Linked DNA regions of Homo sapiens: regions 2, 3 and 4 are each linked to region 1. Evidence: promoter capture Hi-C in human tissues and cell types (Jung and others, 2019). All regions are on one chromosome and are shown on one strand. Each heading gives the region's core, a stretch centred on a gene start or on the middle of the fragment in contact. The rest is flanking DNA. Distances are from core to core; before and after follow the strand shown. Region 1 holds the start of SNF8 (SNF8 subunit of ESCRT-II). Region 2 holds the start of LOC105371813 (a long non-coding RNA gene). Region 3 overlaps LOC105371811 (a long non-coding RNA gene). Region 4 overlaps TTLL6 (tubulin tyrosine ligase like 6).

What was found. Contacts are between HindIII fragments. The study calls those that stand out against the background at their distance.
Region 2: a contact is called between a fragment that was not itself captured here and the fragment with the promoter of SNF8 in region 1, in 11 of the 25 tissues and cell types used here (IMR-90 fibroblasts, adrenal gland, dorsolateral prefrontal cortex and 8 more).
Region 3: a contact is called between a fragment that was not itself captured here and the fragment with the promoter of SNF8 in region 1, in 1 of the 25 tissues and cell types used here (lymphoblastoid cells).
Region 4: a fragment that was not itself captured here is called in contact with the fragment with the promoter of SNF8 in region 1 in 1 of the 25 tissues and cell types used here (spleen).

What each region holds. Positions count from the first base shown.
Region 1 is chr17:48,940,993-48,946,592 of GRCh38, reverse strand. SNF8 (SNF8 subunit of ESCRT-II) reads left to right here and starts at 1,751. Exons shown (of 8, transcript NM_007241.4): 1 at 1,751-1,912; 2 at 2,618-2,668; 3 at 5,531-5,600. The coding sequence starts at 1,859. RefSeq lists a silencer at 1,809-2,038. The HindIII fragment of the contact is 34,253 bases long and covers 1-5,600 here.
Region 2 is chr17:48,810,588-48,816,059 of GRCh38, reverse strand. All of the region lies in intron 1 of TTLL6 (tubulin tyrosine ligase like 6), which reads left to right. It overlaps LOC105371813 (a long non-coding RNA gene), which reads right to left and starts at 3,820. Exons shown (of 4, transcript XR_001752926.1): 1 at 3,701-3,820; 2 at 2,973-3,000; 3 at 68-221. The HindIII fragment of the contact is 4,960 bases long and covers 1,376-5,472 here.
Region 3 is chr17:48,738,264-48,743,692 of GRCh38, reverse strand. It overlaps LOC105371811 (a long non-coding RNA gene), which reads right to left. Exons shown (of 3, transcript XR_934823.2): 3 at 228-569. Among named protein-coding and RNA genes, the nearest start is that of HOXB13, 12 kb to the right of the region's middle. The HindIII fragment of the contact is 8,003 bases long and covers 1-5,429 here.
Region 4 is chr17:48,791,848-48,797,558 of GRCh38, reverse strand. It overlaps TTLL6 (tubulin tyrosine ligase like 6), which reads left to right. Exons shown (of 16, transcript NM_001130918.3): 7 at 355-498; 8 at 1,413-1,498. Among named protein-coding and RNA genes, the nearest start is that of TTLL6, 23 kb to the left of the region's middle. The HindIII fragment of the contact is 6,945 bases long and covers 987-5,711 here.

The sequences.
Region 1 (5,600 bases), core at 502-3,001:
TTTTAGTAGATAGAGGGTTTTACCATGTTGGCCAGGCTGGTCTCGAACTCCTGACCTCAAGTGATCCACCTGGGTCAGCCTCCCAAAGTGCTGGGATTACAGGCGTGAGCCACCGCGCCCGTGCTACTTTCATTTTCAATAAATCCCTTAATTCCTTCCTTGCTTTGTTTGTGCGTTTTGTCCAGTTGTTTGTGCAAAACCCCAAGAACCTGGAACACCCTCCACCGTTAACATATTTTGGCGAGCCAGCCAGGAGGAAAATGTAAGCCCAAAGTTTGGGATTTATTTTCCCCCTTTTTCCTTTTCCTTTCTACTCCATAAAGGGGAATCTCTCCCTCTCTCTGTCTTCCTTTCCAACCCAGGACCGTTGGTGGGCAGCGCCCAAACATGGAAGCAACTGCAGGTTTTTGGCCATGGCCAGTGAAACTAAGGGGTTTCCATGTGGAGAAGCCTAACTACCACCTCCTGGTTCGCTTAAGGAACCTGGGTCTTTTTCGTTTTTTTCCTTTTTTTTTTTTTTTGAGATGGAGTCACTCTGTCACCGAGGTTGGAGTGCATTGGCAAGATCTCTGCTCACTGCAACCTCTACCTCCCAGGTTCAAGGAATTCTCTGCTACAGCCTCCCGAGCAGCTAGGATTACAGGCACCAGCCACCACGCCCGGCTAATTTTTTGTATTTTTAGTAGAGACGGAGTTTCACCATCTTGGCCGGGTTGGTCTTGAACTCCTGACCTCGTGATCCACCCGCCTCGGCCTCCCAAAGTACTGGGATTACAGGTGTGAGCTACCGCGCCCGGCTACAGATGACTGATTTTATCTCAAACAATGAATAACAATCATAAATGATATTTATTTGTGTGCCAGGCATTGCACTATATAATTTACTGCTTTTTTTTTTTTTTTTTTTTTTTTGAGACGGAGTCTCGCTCTTGTTGCCCATGCTGGAGTGCAATGGCGCGATCCTGGTTAACTGCAACCTCCGCCTCCTGGGTTCAAGCGATTCTTCTGCTTCAGCCTCCCGAGTACCTGGGATTAGATGCGCACCACCACGCCCTGCTAATTTTTTTGTATTTGTAGTAGAGACGGGGTTTCGTCTTGTTGACCAGGCTGGTCTCGAACTCCTAACTTCAGGTGATCCGCCCGCCTCAGCCTCCCGAAGTGCTGGGATTACAGGCTTGAGCCACCGCGTCAGGCCATGAGTAGGTATTATTCTATTTCACTACAGCGGATAGTGAAACATAAAGACATTAAAATAATTTGTCTTAAGTTCCTGGACCATATGTAGTGGAACTGAGCTTTGTAGCCAGGCAATCTGTCTTCAGAGTTCAACTTAACTTCAAGGCGCTTGGTAGTCAGAATCCTTTGTATGTGATTCCAACAGGTTAACTCCTTTAGGGCAGAGGGCTGTTTTATGCTCAATATGGAACCTTGGATGGCCAACACAGCGTGTGGCACGTAGGAGGTGGTCCAGGGGCATTTGATGACCTCCAGGCAGTGGAGAGGCAGTCGAGGAAGACCAGGGCCCCAGGCGCCTACGTGGGTGGAATGCACAAGGTTGGCCTTGGCTGCCGGGGCTCCATGTCCCAGCACTAGCCAAGGAGGGCCTCAGCCGCGCTTGAATACTCGTGCTTTCCTCGCCGCGAGGCTTTGCGAATCTTGGCCACTAGCTAAAGGCGGGGTCGCCGGGCCGGTAGGAACTGGAGACACTCAGCCTCGCGGCAGGAAATGCGGCTCGTGGCTTCCGGCGCGTGCAGATGACGCGCGGCTCGGGCTTCCGCCTTGGGGAGCCGGCGGCGGAGTCCGGGACGTGGAGACCCGGGGTCCCGGCAGCCGGGCGGCCCGCGGGCCCAGGGTGGGGATGCACCGCCGCGGGGTGGGAGCTGGCGCCATCGCCAAGAAGAAACTTGCAGAGGTGAGCAGGAAGAAGGCCGACCCACAACCTGCCCCTGACCCGTGCGAGACTGAATTGTCCCGGAGCAGTGTCCTACCCGTTAATCACCTCCCAACAGAATCTGAGACTGGCTTCTCGGCCCCGGGACACAGAATTTCTCCAGCTTCCGGTGGATTGGCAGCGTTCCCAGATGCCCAGCCCTTTCTCCCATTTACCCAAGTTTAACTACAAATGGGATTCTACTCACAAATCTACAGTCGTCGATTCTACTCCTTCACCCTATCCTTCTCCCTAAGAAAACAATTTACAGAGATCCTCCTCTTTTCATCCCAAAGCTGTGGCAGCACAAATGGGGGAACCCAGCGCCCACTCTGTGTTTTTTTGTTTTGTTTTGTTTTTTGAGACAGAGTCTTGCTCTGTCGCCCAGGTTGGAGTGCAGTGGCGCGATCTCGGCTCACTGCAACCTCCACCTCCAGGGTTCACGCCGTTCTCCTGCCTCAGCCTCCTGAGTAGCTGGGACTACAGGCGCCCACCACCACGTCCGGCTATTTTTTTGTATTTTTAGTAGAGACGGGGTTTCACTGTGTTAGCCAGGATGGCTCGATCTCCTGACCTCGTGATCCGCCCGCCTCGGCGTCCCAAAGTTCTGGGATTACAGGCGTGAGCCACCGCGCCTGGCCTCCAGCGCCCACTCTCTTAACTTATGCTGGTCTCTTTGTCTGACAGGCCAAGTATAAGGAGCGAGGGACGGTCTTGGCTGAGGACCAGCTAGCCCAGGTAAGTCGGTTGGGGGGCCCCAGGCAGGGAGGGAGACCTAACCAGGTCTGGCCAAGACACCTTGGATACGAACTTGATTGTGTAGATTGAACTAGAAATAGGGTGTTTGGCAAATTTTGATTTCTGAGCCGCTGAGATCTTTTAGGTGACTTGCTAATAACAATAATGGCTAACATCTTTGAGTGATTACATGCTTGTAACGTCCCAGGCATTTGTCTATTTTCTTTACATAGACTGTCTTGTTCAATCCTCATTACAGTCCCATAAGGAAGGAACCCTATTATTCTGAGGTGTTTGTTTGTTTGTTTGTTTGTTTTTTGAGGGAGTCTTGCTCTGTTGCCCAGACTGGAGTACAGTGGCACGATCTCGGCTCACTGCAGCCTCCGTTTCCTGGGTTCAAGTGATTCTCCAACCTCAGCCTCCCGAGTAGCTAGAACTACAGACATGCGCCACCACGCCTGGGTAATTTTTGTATTTTTAGTAGAGACGGGTTTCTCCATGTTGGTCAGACTGGTCTCAAATTCTTGACCTCGTGATCCGCCCACCTTGGCTTCCCAGAGTGCTGGAATTAAAGGCGTGAGCCACTGTGCCGGGCCCTAATTTTTGTTATTTTTTTTTGTAGAGGCAGGGTTTCGCCATATTGACCAGGCTGGTCTCAAACTCCTGGCCTCAGGTGATCCACCCGCCTCGGCCTCCCAGAGTGCTGGGACTACAGGCGTGAGCCACCGCGCCCGGCCATATTCTGAGTTTAAAATTGAGAGCCGGGTGCTGTGGCATATGCCTGTAATCCCAGCACTTTGGGAAGCTGAGGAAGGCTGATCACCAGAGGTCCATAGTTCGAGACCAGCCTGGCCAACATGGCGAAACCCCGTCTCTACTAAAAATACAAAAATTAGCCGGGCGTGGTGGCGGGCTCCTGTAGTCCCAGCTACTGGGGAGGCTGAGGTAGGAGAATTGCATGAACCCAGGAGACAGAGGTTGCAGTGAGCCAGGATCATGCCACTGCACTCCACCTTGGGGGACAGAGCAAGACTCCATCTCAAAAAAAAGCAAAAAAAAAAAAAAAAAAAAAAAAAAGGCCGGGTGCGGTGGCTAACGCCTGTAATCCCAGCACTTTGGGAGGCCGAGGTGGGCAGAAATTGAGGACACTGGGGTGTTAAGTAATATATCCAAGGTTATATGGGTAGTAAGTGGTAGAGCTGTTATTGATTTAGGTCCTCTGGGGCTTTTCATTTTAAATACCTCAGAATAAAATGAAAATATTGCCTAACCTGTGGCACCCACACCACCATCATGACATCTAGGCACATACCAGGACAGTGTGTGAGTGATGGGGGGTGCAGCTCCTGTGCAGTTTTCTTTTCCAGCCCTTCCCTTCTCTGTACGTGCTCCGAGTTTACCCAGTGATTGTGATTGGGGAAGAAGTGGAGGAAGCCGTTAAGCAGGAAAATGGGGCTGTGAGCTGAGGAAAAATAGTAAACCCAGGCTGTGCTCTTCAAAAGCACCCACTCACAGGGGAGATGGCATGCAGGAATCAACTGAAAATGGTGATTAAAATATGTGGAGGTTTCTTTTTTTTTTTTTTTTGAGACCAAGTTTCGCTCTTGTTGCCCAGGCTGGAGTGCAGTGGCGTGATCTTGGCTCACTGCAACCTCCGCCTAAGAATGTGGAGGTTTCTAACAGTTTTATATGAGAAATAAATATTGGGCTAGGAGTGCTTATTTTTGGTGGGATAGAAGATGGTCCTTGTTAATTAGGAAAAGAGAAGGGGTAATACAAAGTCAGAAAATCCCCAAGTCTTTTGTATTTAACATGAAATGGAATCTGGCAAATTACAGTCCCAGAGCAGTTCTTTATCTGGAGTTGATCCCCAGGGAGGTTCATGACTCAAAAGTTTTTTGTTTTTTTAATTTATATTGGTTGATTGATTGATTGGCCCTGTGCGGTGGCTCACATCTGTAATCCCAGCACTTTGGGAGGCTGAGACAGATGGACTGTTTGAGGTCAGGAATTTGAGACCAGCCTGGCCCACATGATGAAACCCTGTCTCCACTAAAAATACAAAAATTAGCCAGGTGTGGTGGTGCATGCCTGTCGTCCCAACTAGTCGGGAGGCTGAGGCAAGAGAATCAACTTGAACTGGGAGGCGAAGGTTGCAGTGAGCTGAGATTGTGCCAGTGCACTCCAACCTGGGCGACAAAGCAAGATTCTGTCTCAAAAAAATTAAAAAAAAAAAATATTGATTGATTGAGACAGTCTTGCTATGTTGCCCCAGCTAATCTTGAGCTCCTGGGCTCAAGTGATCCGTTGTGGGATTACAGGTGTGAGCCACCATTCCTGGCCAGACTCAAAGGTTATAAACAGATTCATGTGACGCTTCACTTTTTCCCATCCAGCCTTTCTGTCGGCTGGGGGGGGTAAAGATTTTCTAATGGGTGAACACTGCATTCCCTCATTTCTAAGATATGATGAATTATTAGGTACATCTTCAAATTAATACGTTTTTCTGGGAAAAAGAAAAGGAATACCACATTATATATATACCTTTTTCTTTTTTTGTGCATATATTTGGTTGTATATATGTGCACCTTGATTATTAAATGCATGCTGATTTTAGAAGAGGAATACATGAAAAATTGTGTATTTTGGAAGTGAGAAAACAGTACAGCATCCCATTTCTGCTGACAACAGAACTGTGAAGGAGAGGCAGGGATAAAAAGAGAGATGGTAAACAGCATAATGGTAGGCTGAGGGAGACTGGTTATTTCAGCCTTTGCCCTGCCACAGGGCTGGGGACCTGTTTTTGGCATCTGATTATCATTTGGCTGGGCTGCCCTTCACCACTCCCTGTCCATCCAACAGATGTCAAAGCAGTTGGACATGTTCAAGACCAACCTGGAGGAATTTGCCAGCAAACACAAGCAGGAGATCC
Region 2 (5,472 bases), core at 2,606-5,105, 130 kb after region 1:
TGAATATTATTATCATCCCCATTTTACTTATACAGAAGCTGAGGTACAGAGAGGCTAAGTTACTCACCCATGGTCACACATTCTAGAAACTAGTAGAGCTGGGATTTGGATCCAGATCCATCTGTCTTTGTTAGCAATGCCCTGAATATTGTGGAGAAAATGACTAGGCATGAGCCTGATCTGAATATTGCATCTTCCAATCTTGCAGAATTTCTCAGTTTCTAGAAGAATAAAAGATGGCATCTAAGTCAGCAAGATTCTTATTGTTCCCACTACAGGTGACTTGTCATTCTCAACACTTCTTATTGGCAAAGCCCTTGAGCAATTGGGTGCCCCATCCCTCCCTTGTTAGTTCACATTTTGCTTAGGACCCTTTCAGGCCCCGGGCTGAAATTCAAAGTGTGACTAAAACGAAAAGTCAAAAGACCACAAAAAACATCTTATTTTATCCTGTCTGAATCAAAGCTCAAAGCACTTTTCTAGATGTGAAGCTTTTATCCTCCTAGTGGTCCTGTAATTATAGAGAAGATAGGGAGTGGGAGAGGAAATAATTGCTTGGATTTTTATGACATACTGAGTTGGAGGGGCAAAGCTGAAAGCAAGATCCAGAGGTCTTACCTCCACATCTTTTCTTCCCCCATCCAATTTGACATTTTCCAAGAACCACTGGAGGCCTTCAGAGGGATGCTTCCAGTAGGGAAATGAGGACCAAAAGATGAAAAGGAGGTACGTGAAGGAAAACCTATTATCTGGTGAAAGAGAGGGACTTCACAGACAGACACAATAGGCGAAACTTTCAGTGCTCTATATATTCCTATAGACTAGAAAAAAAGTCCAGGTGATGAAGGTCAGAGATGAAAAAACTTGGCTACAACTTGAAATATGTTCTCCCAGGGTTCTCTTAGTCAACCACCAAATTATTGTTTTCTATCATTTATAGGATGCCCGTGTTCATTCAGTTTTGCAAAAGAAATCACTAAACTGCTGGGCGCGGTGGCTCATGCTTGTAATCCCAGCACTTTGGGAGGCTGAGGTGGGCTGATAACCTGAGGTTGGGAGTTTGAGACCAGCCTGACCAACATGGAGAAACCCCATCTCTACTAAAAATACAAAATTAGCCAGGCGTGGTGGTGCATGCCTGTAGTCCCAGCTCCCGGGAAGCTAAGGCGGGAGAATCACTTGAATCCAGGAGGCAGAGGTTGCGGTGAGCTGAGATCGTGCCATTGCACTCCAGCCTGGGCAACAGGCTGGAGTTTGAAAGAAAGAAAGAAAGATAAAAGAAAGCACTAAACATTTTCCACCCTCTGCAACACCTCCAGGGAAGAGGAGAGTAGTCAACAGGTATAGTCCTTCAGAAGTGGAAATAAGACAGGGACCCTCCTCTGAGTTTTTTCCAAATAACCCGCAATGGACCCGTCCCAGTGGACCCGTCCCAGTGCTCATTCCCTCCCCCTGGTGGCCAATGTAGGACATTTTCGTGCTGTCTAACCAGGATCTTGTTGACAGCCTCTGGCTTGGAAGATCTCAAGATCAAACCCTATACTAAAATGGAAGGAAACATGAGAATTTTTTCAGTGTCTTAACTATATCCTACTTGGAAAGGTGGACTAATACCCTTCCTTAATGACACAATGCTCTTTCTTGTGTCATTAAGAAAAACTGAAGATGCTATTTTGCTATTTACTGTGTTTGTTACATTGGTAGTACAGCTCTTAGTCTTTTTTTTTTTTTTTTTTTTTTTGAGACACTGTCTCCCTCTGTCACCCAGACTGGAGGGCAGTGGTGCGATCTGGGCTCACTGCAACGTCCGCCTCCCAGGTTCAAGCGATTCTCCTGCCCCAGCCTACCGAGTAGCTGGGATTACAGGCGCCTGCCACCATGCCCAGCTAATTTTTGTATTTTTAGTAGAGACGGGGTTTCACCATGTTTGCCAACTTGGTCTCCAACTCCTGACCTCAAGTAACCCACCTGCCTTGGCCTCCCAAAGTGCTGGAATTACAGGCGTGAGCCACCGCACCCAGCCTTAGTCTTTTAAAAACTCTCTAAAGCACTTAGTCCACTTTGTCTGTCCACTAACCCAGCATAATGGGAAGATAACTTGGGGACCAGGAAGCTGGGGTTTTGATGGTGCTTCTGATTTCTTGCTCTCTGGCTGGGTACAAGTCCCCTCCCCTAGCACAGACTGGCAGAGGGCAGAGAGTTCAAAACCTCCTCTAAAAAGATTCCTCCCAGCTCTAACATTCAGGAATTCCATAGAAGCTTAGAAAATATTCTAATTACACCCTTAATAGGAGCCCTGGTACAATGTGGACATTGGAGAAAAGAAGGGAAAGAGAGTGAAAATAAATACAAGTAGAAACAATACAGCTGTTACCAGGTTATGGCAAATCTGGAGAGATCCAAGCCCTTGTTGGAGATGGGAATTTAAAGCAGTTGACTTTAAGGAAAATGATGTGGGACCAACTGATTATTTTTCTCTTTTTCTTTTTCTTTTTGTTTTTGAGGCAAGGTCTAGTTCTGTCTCCCAGGCTGGAGTGCAGTTGTGTGATCTCTACTCGCTGCAACCTCAGCCTCCCGGGCTAAAGTGATCCTCCCACCTCAGCCTCCTGAGTAGCTGGGACTACAGGCACACGCCACCACACCTGGCTTATTTATTTATTTATTTATTGGTAGAGTGGGGTTTCACCATGTTGTCCAGGCTGGTGTCAAACCCCTGGCTCAAGTGCTCTGCCCACCTTGGCCTCCGAAAGTGCTGAGATTACAGGCATGAGCCATCGTGCCTGTCCCCAACTGACTCTTAAGAGACTAAAGTCACTAAGATTGCTTTTGGGAGTTAGGAGATCAGTTACTTTAGTTTATGGTCACACTATTTATGGATGGCCTGCCGAGAGGAAAAGGCAGTGAGGGGAGCATGGAGAGACAGGCTGTGGGGTCAGATGGACATGTCTTCCAACCCCAGCTGTGCCTCTTACCTTAGTCTCTCTGTCTCAGTCTTCTCATCTGTAATAGAGGAAAGAGTATCCATGATAGGTTATTATGAGGATGAGACATTATGTTTATAAATGCTTTAGTGTAATGTCTGCTACTTGGTAAGTGGGTTTTCAATAGTCTATTGTAAGTGAATGAAACAAGCATTTTAAGTGCCAGCTATATGAGAAGGACCCAAGGTTGATGTTTTAACAATGTAAATAACAAATGTTACTTACCTAATGCTCACAACAACACTTCTGTTATATAGCTAAGGAAAATGAACCTTGGAGAAGCTTAATTAGTTCATGCATTTATTCATTCTTCCAGCCCATTAATTCAAGGAGCATATGAACATCTCATTTTTAGTATCTTTTCTAGACACTGCTAGGAGCTGAGAATGCAGAGACACAGCCTCTTCCATCAGGAAGTTCACAGTCCAGGGTTACACAGCTGGTAATGGTAGAGAGCACTTTGTGGGTACCTTCTATGTGCCAGGCACTGTTCTAAGAACTTTGTGTTGCATTAAGTCAAATGAGTAAACTCATTTAATCTCCATAACTGGGAGAAGCCACTTTACAGATGAGGAAACTAAGGCAGGAGGTTAAATAAACTGCCTGAGTTCAGACAACTAGGAAGTGGCAGAGCTGGGATTTAAATCCAGACAGAGACTTCGAAATCTGAGTTCTTAGCTACTACACTGCAGCTGCCTCTTAATAAGTGGCTTAGTCACCTGTAGCTGACGGCAGAGGCCCTTACACCATGATGTATGTATATTTCAGGATGCCACCAGCAGCTCCCCTCACTCCTTTGTATTCTCCTTAGGCCATGTCTTTTGCCTTTCCTCCTTTTATTCCTCAAGGCTACAAGACTGCTTTTGGTGTTGGCACCAACAAAATTGTTACGCAAGACAATAGGTGGGAACTACCAGGTGAGCAGGGAGTGGTTGCTAAGACTGTTAAGAGAAGTCTTGTAGAACCAAATAAAGTCCACATCTGAAAAGTCTGAGCGGGGGGTGGGGGGGGGGGTCCCAGCATCACCTGGGTCAGATTTAATTCTTATTCTGAAAACCAGGGAATTAAAATGCTTTCTGGCTGGGCGTGGTGGCTCACGCCTGTAATCCCAACACTTTGGGAGGCCGAGGTGGGCGGATCACCTGAGTTCAGGAATTTGAAACCAGCCTGGCCAACATGGCAAAACCCCGTCTCTACTAAAAATGCAAAAATAATTAGGCCGGCATGGTGACAGGTGCCTGTAATCCCAGCTATTTGGGAGGCTGAGGCAGAAGAATAGCTGGAACCTGGGAGGTGGAGGTTGCAGTGAGCTGGGATCGTGCCATTGCACTCCAGCCTGGGTGACAGAGCAAGACTCTGTCTCAAAAAAAAAAAAAAAAAAAAGCTTTCTGCTCAGCCCTGGTGGAAGTAGCTTTTGTTTTCACTTGAAACTGCTTGGAGGCCAGAGATACTAGAGCAGAACTGGTATAAATTCAGATGTCTATAGGGTCAGGCATATAGTTTAAATGAAAGAAGTGGGCTGCGTTTAAGAAAATGTCACCTCTCTTGAGCTGGGCACAGCGGCTCATGGTTGTAATCCCAGCTACTTCCAAGGTTGAGGCAGGAGGATCTCCTGAGGCCAGGCATTTGAGACCAGCCTGGGCAACATAGCAAGACCATGTCTCTAAAAAAGAGATGTCTCAATGCTACTATAAGAAAAATAGGCTGGGCATGGTGGCTCACACTTGCTTTGAGTAATCCCAGCACTTTGAGTGGCCAAGGTGGGTGGATCACCTGAGGTCAGGAGTTTGAGACCAGCCTGACCAATATGATAAAACTCCGTTCTCTACTAAAAATACAAAACTTAGCCAGGCATGGTGACAGGCACCTGTAATCCCAGCTACTCGGGAGGCTGAGGCAACAGAATCGCTTGAACCCAGGAAGCAGAGGTTGCAGTGAGCCGAAATCATGCCACTGCACTCTAGCCTGTGTGACGAGTGAGACTCTGTCTCAAAAAAAAAAAAAAAAAAAGAAAAATAATAATATAAGGATAACTGTCACTTGGCTCCTGTGTCAGGGAAACAAAAAGGAGTGTTGGGCATTGGGGCAGACTGGGAAATGTCTACAGGAGGCATTACTGAGCTCTGGTTGATTGCTGGCATGAAGGAATAGAGACCTCTCCAAAAGAAATGGAAATCTGCATTTTCTAGTTGTTGGCAACTACATATATATACACACACATACTATATATATATATATATATATATATATATACACACACATACTATATATGTGTATATATGTACTATATATATATACACACATACTATATATGTGTATATATGTACTATATATATATACACACATACTATATATACACATAGGTTTTTTTGTTTGATTGTTTTTTGAGACAGGGTCTCACTGTTGCCCAGCTGGAGCGCAGTGGCATGATCACAGCTCACTGCAGCCTCAATCTCCTGGGCTCAGGTGATTCCCTTACCTCGGCCTCCCG
Region 3 (5,429 bases), core at 1,274-3,773, 200 kb after region 1:
CCCCAGATTGGCCGGGCGCGGTAGCTCACACCTGTAATTCCAGCACTTTGGGAGGTGGAGGCAGGCAGATCACCTGAGATCAGGAGTTCCAGACCACCCTGGTCAACATGGTGAAACCCTACCTCTACTAAAAATACAAAAATTAGCCAGGCATGGAGTCACGCGCCTGTAATCCCAGCTACTCGGGAGGCTGAGGCAGGAGAATCGCTTGAACCTGGGAGGTGGAGGTTACAGTGAGCTGCCGTTGCACTCCAGCCTGGGCGACAGAGCAAGATTCCATCTAAAAAAAAAAAGTTAGGGGTGTGCGCACCGGGAGAGGGGGACTCAGGGCTGAGATAAAGCCAGGCTCCAGGCTCCTTGGTGGTTCCTGGGGAAGAGGAGTGGGCATCCTGGTACTCTTCCCCATGCTAGGATGTCACAGCTTCTCCAGTGGGTCACCATCCAGCCCAGGTTTCTTCCTAGCTTGAGGGATGTGGGGCGTGTTATGGCTTTTTATACACAAGAGAACAAGTTTGTCTGCTGGTCCCTCTTCCAACCAAAATCTTCACCTTCTCCTCAAATACCACCAACTGTGAGAAAAACAATACTTTGTTATGTAGGCATCACACTCTTTGTAGAATCTCAATTTCCCTCATCTTGATTGATTGTCTCCAAGCAGCCCTGTAAGGAAGTATGGGCAGAGAGGATCACTTCCATTTTACAAATGAGAAGACCGAGGGCTGCAGAGAGGAGATGGCCAGTCCAAGGACACACAGCTTGAGCACAAGCCAGAGCAGAGACAGCAGTTCAGGCTTTCCACCTCAGTGGTACCCTAAAGGCAGGAAGGAGTGAGAGATGGCAGAGCTAGACTGGCCACTCCACCTCTGAAACAGACCATGTTCTTTCTTTGGTTTCCTTGGGAAGCATTCAGGCCTCTGGGTGCATCCCCAAGGCAGGAAATGAACAGTCCTGCCTCTAGAGCAGCAATCTTGCCTTTAGATCTGGAGCTGTGTATCCAGTGTTTGAAACTTACATAATCCAAAGACCCACCAGAGGATCCCATTCTTGGCTGCCTCCAGTGAGAGAAGGAATGAGGTCTCTCACTCCAAGAGCAATGAGGGGACCAAAGGGAGTCAGAAAGTGACATAGTGGGTGGGCAGGGGAGGGCACTGCTTATCCCAGCTCTCCTTTCTTTGGCAGGGAGTGGAGGGAAGGATGTAGCTCTCCTGTCCATATCTGGCTGCCACAGCCAGAGGACAAGTGAGGAAGAAACCTGTAAGAATCAGTTGTTTGGTTCAACATAGAGCAGTCATCTTTTCTGAGGATGTCCAATACCTTTTGAGAACTGGGTTGGCCCAGGTTTTTAAATAAAGTAATGGCATGAAAAATGGATTGGGAGCAATTGTTATAGGTTATAAGACAGTTGAGAGACATCAAGCAAATGTAATGTATGAACTTTGTTTAGATCCTGACTTAAACTAACTGTAAAAAGACATTTTTGAGAAAACTTAGGAAATTCAAACATGGATAGTATTAAGGAATTATTCTCAATTTTGTCCTGTGTGACAATCACATAAAGGTTATATATAAAAAAAGCAAAAGAAGAGTGGCTTACGCCCATAATCCCAACACTTCAAAAGGCCAAGGTTGGAGGATCCCTTGAGGCCAGGAGTTTAGAGACCAGCCTGGGCAACAAGCGAGACCTTGTCTCTACAAAAAATAAAATAAAACTAGGCTGGGCGCAGTGGCTCATGCCTATAATCCCACCACTTTGGGAAGCCAAAGAGGCAGATCACTTGAACAAGGGAGTTTGAGACCCATCTGGGAACCCCCGTCTCGACCAAAAAAAAAAAAATGTACCCAGGCATGGTAGCACATGCCTGTAGTCCTGTAGTCCTAGGCGTGGGATCCCTTGAGCCCAGGAGTTCAAGGCTTCAGTGACACTGCACTCCTGCCTGGGTGACAGAGCAAGATCCATCTCTAAAAACAAAAAAAAATTTTTTTAAACCTGTTAAAGATTCAAACTGAAGAATTTTGGAACAAAAAAAAAGAAAAAAAAAGAAAAGAAGTCTGGGATTTGCTTTAAAATACTCCAGAAAGAAGGCTGAGCCCGGTGCTCATCATAACTTTGGGAGGCCAAGGTGGGTGGATCACGAGGTCAGGAGATGGAGACCATCCTGGCTAACAAGGTGAAACCCTGTCTCTACTAAAAATACAAAAAATTAGCCAGGTGTGGTGGTGGGCGCCTGTAGTCCCAGCTACTTGGGAGGCAGAGTGAGACTCTGTCTCAAAAAAACAAAACAAAACAAAACAAAACGAAACAAAAAACCTCCAGAAAGAAATGCAATAAGATGGGCTATGAGTTGATTATTGTTGAAGCTGAGTGATAGGTATGAGGGGTTGAATTACACTTTTTTGTTTACTTTTCTGTATCTGTAAAATTTGCCATTAGAAAACAAATCAATAGGCTGGGCACGGTGGCTCACACCTGTAATCCCAGCACTTTGGGAGGCTGTGGCGGGTGGATCACGAGGTCAGGGGTTCAAGACCAGCCTGACCAACATGGTGAAACCCTGTCTCTACTAAAAATACAAGAATTAGCCAGGCATGGTGATGTGTGCCTATAATCCCAACTACTCAGGAGGCTGAGGCAGGAGAATCGCTTGAACTCGGGAGGCGAAGGTTGCAGTGAGCCGAGATCACGCCACCACACTCCAGCCTGGGCAACAGAGCGAGACTCCGTCTCAAGAAAAAGAAAAGAATAAAGCAGTAGGCTCATGTCCTAAAAAACCACACATGTACACCAATGTTCACCCTCAATTTTAAAGGGTGAGGCTTTGAGAGCCACCCATAAAATCAAATTCAGAATCCTCAGTGCCCACCAAATACCCATTTTTTTCCCCCATAGAAGGGACAGGCTTGGAAGGTGTTTTGGCACCAGGTTGACCCAACCATGCTTGTTGACCCAAACATGACAGTTTTCTGCTGTCAGTGTGGGTAACAGAGCCATTAGAGGAGTTTGAGCCTCCCACAATTCAACTCTAGGTGAACATTTGCCAGGTATAGCTCCTTTGTTACTCATGTGGACTCAGCCTCCAAAGTAAAACAGGGTGGGAGGAATGGGGTGGGAGGAAGAGGACAGAAATTGGTTCCCACTTTTGTAGTTTTAGAAGTCATGGGGGGCACTGATAAAAAAGATGACAGTGTATTAAAGGGTTTTCTTCATTTTATTTCATTTTTTGAGACGGAGTCTCACTCTGTCACCCAAGCTGGAGTGCAGTGGCACGATCTTGGCTCACTGCAACCTCTGCCACCCGGGTTCAAGCAATTCTCCTGCCTTAGCCTCCCGAGTGGCTGGGACAACAGGCATATGCCACCACGCCCGGCTAATTTATTTATTTATTTATTTATTTTTGTAGAGATGGGGTTTCACCATGTTGGCCAGGCTGGACTTGAACTCCTGACCTCAAGGATCCACCTGCCTCGGCCTCCCAAAATGCTGAGATTATAGGCTTGAGCCACCACTCCCAGCCGGGTTTCTTTATTTTAGAGTTCATGTTTTGATTTTTCCAAATTCCTTAATTTTTCCCTTTTCCCTTTAATAATTTCCCAAATATCTTAAGTCTGTTTTTAGTATTAGTTTGAGATACTAATGAGATATAATGAAATTTATTTCCATTTTAAAATTTGTCATGGTCGGTTGCAGTGGCTCATGCCTGTCGTCCCAGCACTTTGGGAGGCTGAGGTGGAAGGGTCGCTTGAGCTCAGCAGTTTGAGACCAGCCTGGGTAACATGGCGAGACCTCGTCTCTATAAAAAATTTTAAAATTAGCTGGGCGTGGTGGTAAGTGCCTGTGGTCCCAGCTACTGAGGGGACTGAAGTGGGAGGATTGCTTGAGCTCGGGAGGTCGAGGCTGCAGTGAGTCGAGATCGCGCCAATGCACTCCAGGCTAGGTGAGGGAATGAGACCCTGTGTCAAAATAAAATAAAATAAAATAAAATAAAATAAAATAAAATAAAATAAAAATGTGTCAACGATTTGTGTTTGGAGAGGGAAGAGAAGTGAAAATATCAGAATCAGGATTTGGTGCCATAAAGCCTCGATTTGCCTCTAGAAGTTGGACAAATTATCTCCTAAACCTCAGCTTTCTTGTTTTCTTTTACTTTTTTGAGACTGGTTCTCCCTCTGTCTCCCTGGCTGGAGTGCAGCAGCGCAATCACGGCTCACTGCACCATCCAACTTCGGATTCAACAGAAATTCAGGGTTCAAGCCAGGCTGATCTGGAACTCCTGGGCTCAAGCGATCCGCCGGCCTTGGCCTCCCAAAGTGCTGGGACTGCAGGCGTGAGCCACCGTCCCGGCTCAGTTCTCTTATCTACAAAACGGAAGTAACAATTTCCCCCCACTCCTGCCCCGTTCTTTTGTTGTGCGGATTAAATAAAAGGCGTCTACAGGGTACTTAAAGTACCCTGCACTTCGAAGACTTTCCAAAGGGACTGCCCCAAGGACCCCTGGAGGGCTATGGGATTAGAGATGTAGGGGTCTGCGCGGCCCGAGGTGCTGGCCACAGTGGCGTCAGGGAGTGCAGCTTCTCAGTCCCGGATCAAGAAGGCGGCAGCTCTCCACCCGCCAACGCACTAAGCGGGTTTTCGCCTTGAGGTACGACCTGCGCTCAGGGTGAGGATCGGTGGAGGGCAGGTGCACCTACCAGCATAGAGGAGATCTTTGCGTGAGTAGGAGGAAGGGACTGCAAGAAGACTCCCCAGCTCTCTTGCTGCGCTGGCTGGACCGTTAAAGACCTGACCCGCGGGCCGCAGGGCGCTTTACCATCCAGGAGCTGGGGAGTAAACCCCGGCCGGTGAGGTGACTCAGTATTGGGATTACTGAAAAATCTGCCCGACCAGGTGTGTTTACACACGCAGAAGGAAGGAAAGAATGTCTCTGGGACAAAAAGGGGGAAAATTCTTTAGGCTGGCCTCTAGTCTTGATGAAGAGTTAGTGGGTTCCCCTTAATTCCTATGAATTCTCCCACCTGAGAGCGTCCCACCTTGCCCGCTTGACCTGCACGGATCTCGGGCAGTGCAAGGCCGGGGAGGATGGGCTGGTCGGCGTCAGTCTGTGCTTTCCCTCGTCCAAAGCTTGGCCTGCACTCCCAGGGCAGGTGATTCCCGAGGCTAGAAAAACCATGCAGATGGGGGTGGAGGATAAAGGGGCAAAGGAAGCAGAATCTACCGGTAGACTGGTGTGGGGGATTCCAATTCCAGGGCAGAGAGCACCCCTGCCCCCACAATCTCTATCTGCATCCCCCACCCAAGGCAGCTGGAGATCTGGGCTGGGTCTGGGCCGGACAGGTTATTGAGAGGGTGGAGGGCATGGAGAGACCAGGGTTTGCTTCCCATGGTTCTTCCCCAGCTCCCCAACCTGTCTCTGGGGCTAAGCACCATTTCTAGG
Region 4 (5,711 bases), core at 3,210-5,709, 150 kb after region 1:
CGCCTCAGACTCCCAAAGTGCTAGAGTTACAGGCATGAGCCACCACGCCTGGCTTCAGAGGACTTTTTAATGTTACTTTGTTTAGTTGCCAAGGTGCCTCTTAGAGGTGGTTACTTGTGTCACTTGACAGATCAGGAAACCAAGGCACAGTGTGGTTTAGTGACCTCCACAGGGTCACATGTTGGGACACAGAGCCCAAGTCTCCTTGTTCCTCTCTCTGACCCTGGACAAGCCTGCCCTCCACAACACTAGGCAATGTTGGAGCCAACTCCATGGAAACAAGGCGGGAGCTAGTGATTTTCAAGTGTAAATTTCTCCTCTAATGCATGTCTGACTTCTGTTCTCTCCTTCCAGCCCTTTATCATTGATGGGTTTAAGTTTGACCTACGGATTTATGTACTGGTGACATCCTGTGACCCTCTCAGGATTTTTGTGTACAATGAAGGACTGGCCCGCTTTGCGACGACCTCTTACTCCCGCCCTTGCACAGACAACCTGGTGAGCTAAGGAGACACACTACCTCACCCTACCCCCATAGCGTGATTAAAAAAAAAAAAATTCTAGTTAAATCCACATCCTCAAGACATTGTGAGTGTCATTTGTTGAGCACTTGCTATGTGCCGGGTTTCATTTAGCGCTGCCAGGATCCCTCAGAGAGAGGGATTATTATCCCCATTTTACAGATGACGAGATTAAAACCCAGAGCATAAGGGACTTGTCCAAGGTCACACAGCTAGGAAGAGGTGAGTCTGGGGCTTGTGGCCAGGTCTGCCTGACTCCAAAGCCAGAACCACAGTTCAGGGGTAATCAAGGAGAAAAGGCCGTGGATGAGCAACCCTGCCATCCCCACCTTTCCTGGACCCCCAGGACTCCTGAAGTTTTTCTCAGGCTGGGCACCACCCAATCTCAGAAAGAACTGGAGTTTCTTTTTTTTTTTTTTGAGATGGAGTCTCGCTTTGTCGCCTAGGCTGGAGTGCAGTGGCATGATCTCGGCTCATTGCAACCTCTGCCTCCTGGGTTCAAGCGAGTCTCTTACCTTAGCCTCCTAAGTAGCTGGGATTACAGGTGTGCACCACATCCCCGGCTAATTTTTGTATTTTCAGTAGAGATGGGATTTCACCATGTTGGTCAGGCTGGTCTTGAACTCCTGACCTCGTGATCTGCCTGCCTCAGCCTCCCAGAGTGCTGGGATTACAGGCATGAGCCACCACGCCCAGCAGAATTGGAGTTTCTTAGGCTCGAGGCTGCAGGACACCCCTTCTTACTTCCTGTATTTTGCCACACTAAATAAGCCCTAAAACTTCCCTTTCTTTCCATCCCTTCAAGCCCCAGGGGCCATGGGAGGGCACAGAGAGGAAGCAGGGGGCCTGCCCTTCCGAGCTGACCCGACAGATGTGTGTCTTTTTCCCCAGGATGATATCTGCATGCACCTGACTAATTATTCCATTAATAAGCACAGTTCAAATTTCAGTCGAGATGCACACTCTGGCAGTAAGAGGTAAGGAAGAGGCTTCATTTTTCTTTCCTTTCCCTACCAACCTCAGAACTGCTTTCTGGGATTCTACCCAAACCCTGTTAGTCCCCATCAGTGTTTCCATCTTGGGTCACATGGTCTGAGAATATACTCCTTTGCCTCGCAACCCAGAACAAATTCCTTCATCTCTGCCCTCTTGGCTGTTAATCATTAAAAGAAGGCCCCATCGTAAACCCTGGGAGGCTGGGAGGAGGAGAGATAAACATGAGCTGTTTCCCCAGCAGAATATATACACACACCAAAACATACCCTTATTACAGTTGGCCCTTCTGATATTTCCAAATCAACAGATATTTATTGATCGCTAGTCTGCCACGTGAGAAGGACTTGCCAGGCAGTCATTGCTTGGCCCATGTTCCCCTGGACGTTGCTCCATTAGAGATTCTCAAATGATGTGTCACAGTGCCCTGACATGTGGCTAGCCGGCTTGAAGATTCCTCAGAAGGGGGGAAATTGAGAGCAGTTCATGAGAGTATCTTCACGAGAGGCTTTTCCATTCCTGTTATTGTCTAATCGGGTCTCATTTGAGTTTTAAGAAAACGGGGGACTGAAGAATGTGAACTTGACCAGGTGAAGGAGGAAAGGGAAAAGGAGCAAGTATTTCTGAGGCTTCATGTGTGTTGGGGTCTGTGCTTGGTGCTTTCTGTGCATTTTTTATTGCTGAATTTTTCTTTTCTTTTCTTTTTTTTTTTTTTCTTTTGAGACTGAGTCTTGCTCTGTCGCCAGGCTGGAGTGCAGTGGTGCGATCTTGGCTCACTGCAACCTCTGCCTCCCGGGTTAAAGCAATTCTCCTGCCTCAGCCTCCCAAGTAGCTGAGACTATAGGCATGTGCCACCACACTCCGCTAAGTTTTGTATTTTTAGTAGAGACAGGGTTTCAGCATATTGGCCAGGATGGTCATGATCTCTTCACCTCGTGATCTTCCCACCTCAGCCTCCCAAAGTGCTGGGATTACAGGCGTGAGCCACCGCGCCCGGCCTATTCTTGAATTTTTCACAGCAACACTATGGCAAAGGCATTACTATCTGCCCTCTGTAGGTGGAGAACTGTGAGTTAGGTGCCATCTCCATCTTACAGATGAGGAAACTGAGTCTCAGAGGTTGCGTGAGTTGCCCCAGGTCCCGCAGCTGTGACTGCTAGACTGGGTGGAGAAGCGAGGTCTGTTAGACCCCAGAGCTCATTCTCTTTCCGCTGCACCAGGCTTCAAAGGACCTCTGAACAGGCAATTAGTTTGGCTTCAGACCATCAGAGAGGCATGTGACAGTTCATGACCCCCTCAGTGGCAGCATTCCAAAAAGCACACAGAAAATCGCTAAGTTAAGGCTGCTTAAAGGGGATGTGGAAGGCTGGTGGGAGGCAGTCTCCCCCTTTTCCAGAAGATGTCAGCCACCTGTGCTGCCTGAAGCTCTGCGACTTCCTCCTCTCCTCCCCACCTGGGCTGTGGGCATCAGCTGGGCCTCTTGCATTGCTGCGTTCTGAGCGTGGCACTCTGGGAGGTCTAGTTTGTAGTCCCGGCTCCGACACTTGCCAACTAGGCTTGGACAAGTTACTTCATCTCTCTGAGCCTGCACTTCTTGGTCTGGAGGATGAACGTGATGAGACTCCCTGCCCTGCCCTGCCACCTCACAGGGTCTCTGTGAGGTTCAAATGACTTGTGATGGCAACACAGACAGTGTGCGTGGTTACTGTCATTTTTCCTTAGTCTAAGGGCACAGAATGGAAAGGTTCTCATTTTCCTCCTCCAATGAGAATTGGCACCCCAACAGCAGGCCCTGGGCCCTCGGCTGTGATGGAGGGGTGTCTCGGGGTAGCAGAACTAAGGTGAGGTTGCAAGGCTTCAAGTGTTGTTCTGCCTCTTCCATTTCCCCTGTCCTCTTCCTCTGTTCATCTCCCTCTCACCCCACTGTACTTCTCCATCCACTCTCTCCTGGAGCAGCCGTGTGCCCCCGTGGCCTCCGCCTGCCCTTGCTGGGCTCAGCCTGTCTCCCTTGGGCTCCAGGTCCATCTCTCCTCAGTTCCACCTGGACGTCTTCAACTCAGCATTTCCCAGAATGGGTGTATTCTCTCTCCTTGCCTCCACCGCAGCACTCCAAATTGGTCTCCCTGCCCAACTTCCCCATCTCTACCTTCTCATCTCCAGGGGTGGAGAGCTTGGACATTTCTTTTCCTAGTGATAATTTACATACTTGAACCCACTTAATCCTCCTCACAACAACACTATGAAGTCAGCATTATCATCATCCCTATTCTGCATATTAGGAAACTGAGGTGTGAAAAAGTTAAGTAACTTACCTGGGTCGCACAGCTAGGAAGCTGGGATTGAAACCAGGGCTGCCTGACCCCCGAGTTGGTGCCCTTACCCACTAAGCCATGCTGCCCGTGCCATCCACTTCATGGACAGGGCACTGTCTTTTTTTTTTTTTTTCTTGAGACGGAATCTTGCTCTTGTCACCCCAGACTGGAGTGCAATGGCGCGATCCCGGCTCACTGCAAAAGTTTCGACTCCCGGATTCAAGCGATTCTCTTGCCTCAGCCTCTCAAGTAGCTGGGATTACAGGCGCCCACCACCATGCTTGGCCAATTTTTTGTATTTTTACAACCCTCATGGTCAACATCAGCCATCGCCCATAACTATTCTTTGCCCAGTGCACATTTGTCTTTTGTCCCTAGTTGTACTTTGCTCCTTGAGGGTTACAATGGTGCCCTGGCCTTTGGGGTTCTTCCCATAGTGCTGGGCAGAGTTCATCTTTCCTCCTCTCCCTCCCATCTTGTTTCTCCTTTCCTCTTCCTCCTCTCCATCTTTTGAGACAATCTTCTTCTCATACTGACTGTCTCATCTGTCCCAAAGTTGGCGTTTGAGGTCAACTGCCCTCCCTGTCAATACCCCACTGGCGCACAAACTCAGGAGTAGTGCTGCGGTCACAGTGAAGGAGAAGACAGGAAACCTGAAAACCTGGCAGGATTCTGGGGCAGACACCAAGCCATCTTCATCTTTCAGTGTGCTCAGCACATGGCTGGTATTAAATTGAATTGACTTACCACTGGGCATTATGAAATTACACAATGAAGTATATTCATTGTGATGAGCCTGAGTCATCAAGAAAAGGTTATGTTATATGTTGCCAGGGAGGTGTATAATCTATTTCAGGAAAATTTATTTCCCAATTAGGCAAATTAAATACATTTTCTCCACTTGAAAAAAATTGGCTTAAAGCGATCTGGAAAATCCATTTATGTGCAACACTGTTTTCTGACAATGGCAGGTGGAGGAGGTGGCCTCTATATTGAGTATCCTTTGCTTATCTGTCTTTATATAAATGCATCCTTGGTTGTTTCACATGTGTGTTGACTCCCTGAATGGTCCTGAGGCTTCCCATGACAGAGGTGACAGTTTCTAGTGTCCCCTCCTTGCATGAGGCTTTGCATGCACCAAAGGCCCTTATCAAATGCTCATTGTCTGGCTGACCCTGCTTCCTCCTTCTTGACCCCTTGGGCTGGGATCTAGTGAGCTTTTGAAACTGCCTGGATGAGCCGTGTCTCTTGTCTTTTTCATTCTTTCTGCTGTTCACTCCCCTGCACCTCCTCCTTCCACACTGCCACTTCCACTTTGGCTGTCTGTGCACATTTGTGTGCATGTGAGGTGGCAAATGTCTGTCCCCACCACTGCCTCTTGGATTTGTGACATCCATCCTCTCTCTGTAATGCCCAGCTCAGAGCTGGCTGAGTACCCACTCAGGTATTTCCTCATGAACTATTCCACATGAGGTAAACATCTCTGAGTTCATCTGTGATCAGGTGACCAGCTGTCTCCGTTTGCCCACGACTGAGGGGTTTCCTGGAATTCAGGACTTGCAATTCTAAAACTGGGACAGTCCAGTTTGCCTGGCACAGTTGGTAACCTTATCTGTGGACATGCCCTTGGGTGCCTTTTCCTTGTGGGCAGCCCTAAAACAAGTTTTCTGTGTCATTAGTGTCCCTAGAATCCCCTCAGATGGCTGAGGTGGGACCCAGGCATCAGTGTTCTTAAAAGGCTGCCCACATGCTTCTAATGAACACCAAAGGCTGAGGAATCATTGCTGCCAAAGTAAAACCATGGTGTCAGGGGGTTTTCTTGACTCATCCCTTCCCCTGCTGATAGATGTTTTCTGGGTCACAGTGAAAGTGAAAGTGTCCTGAC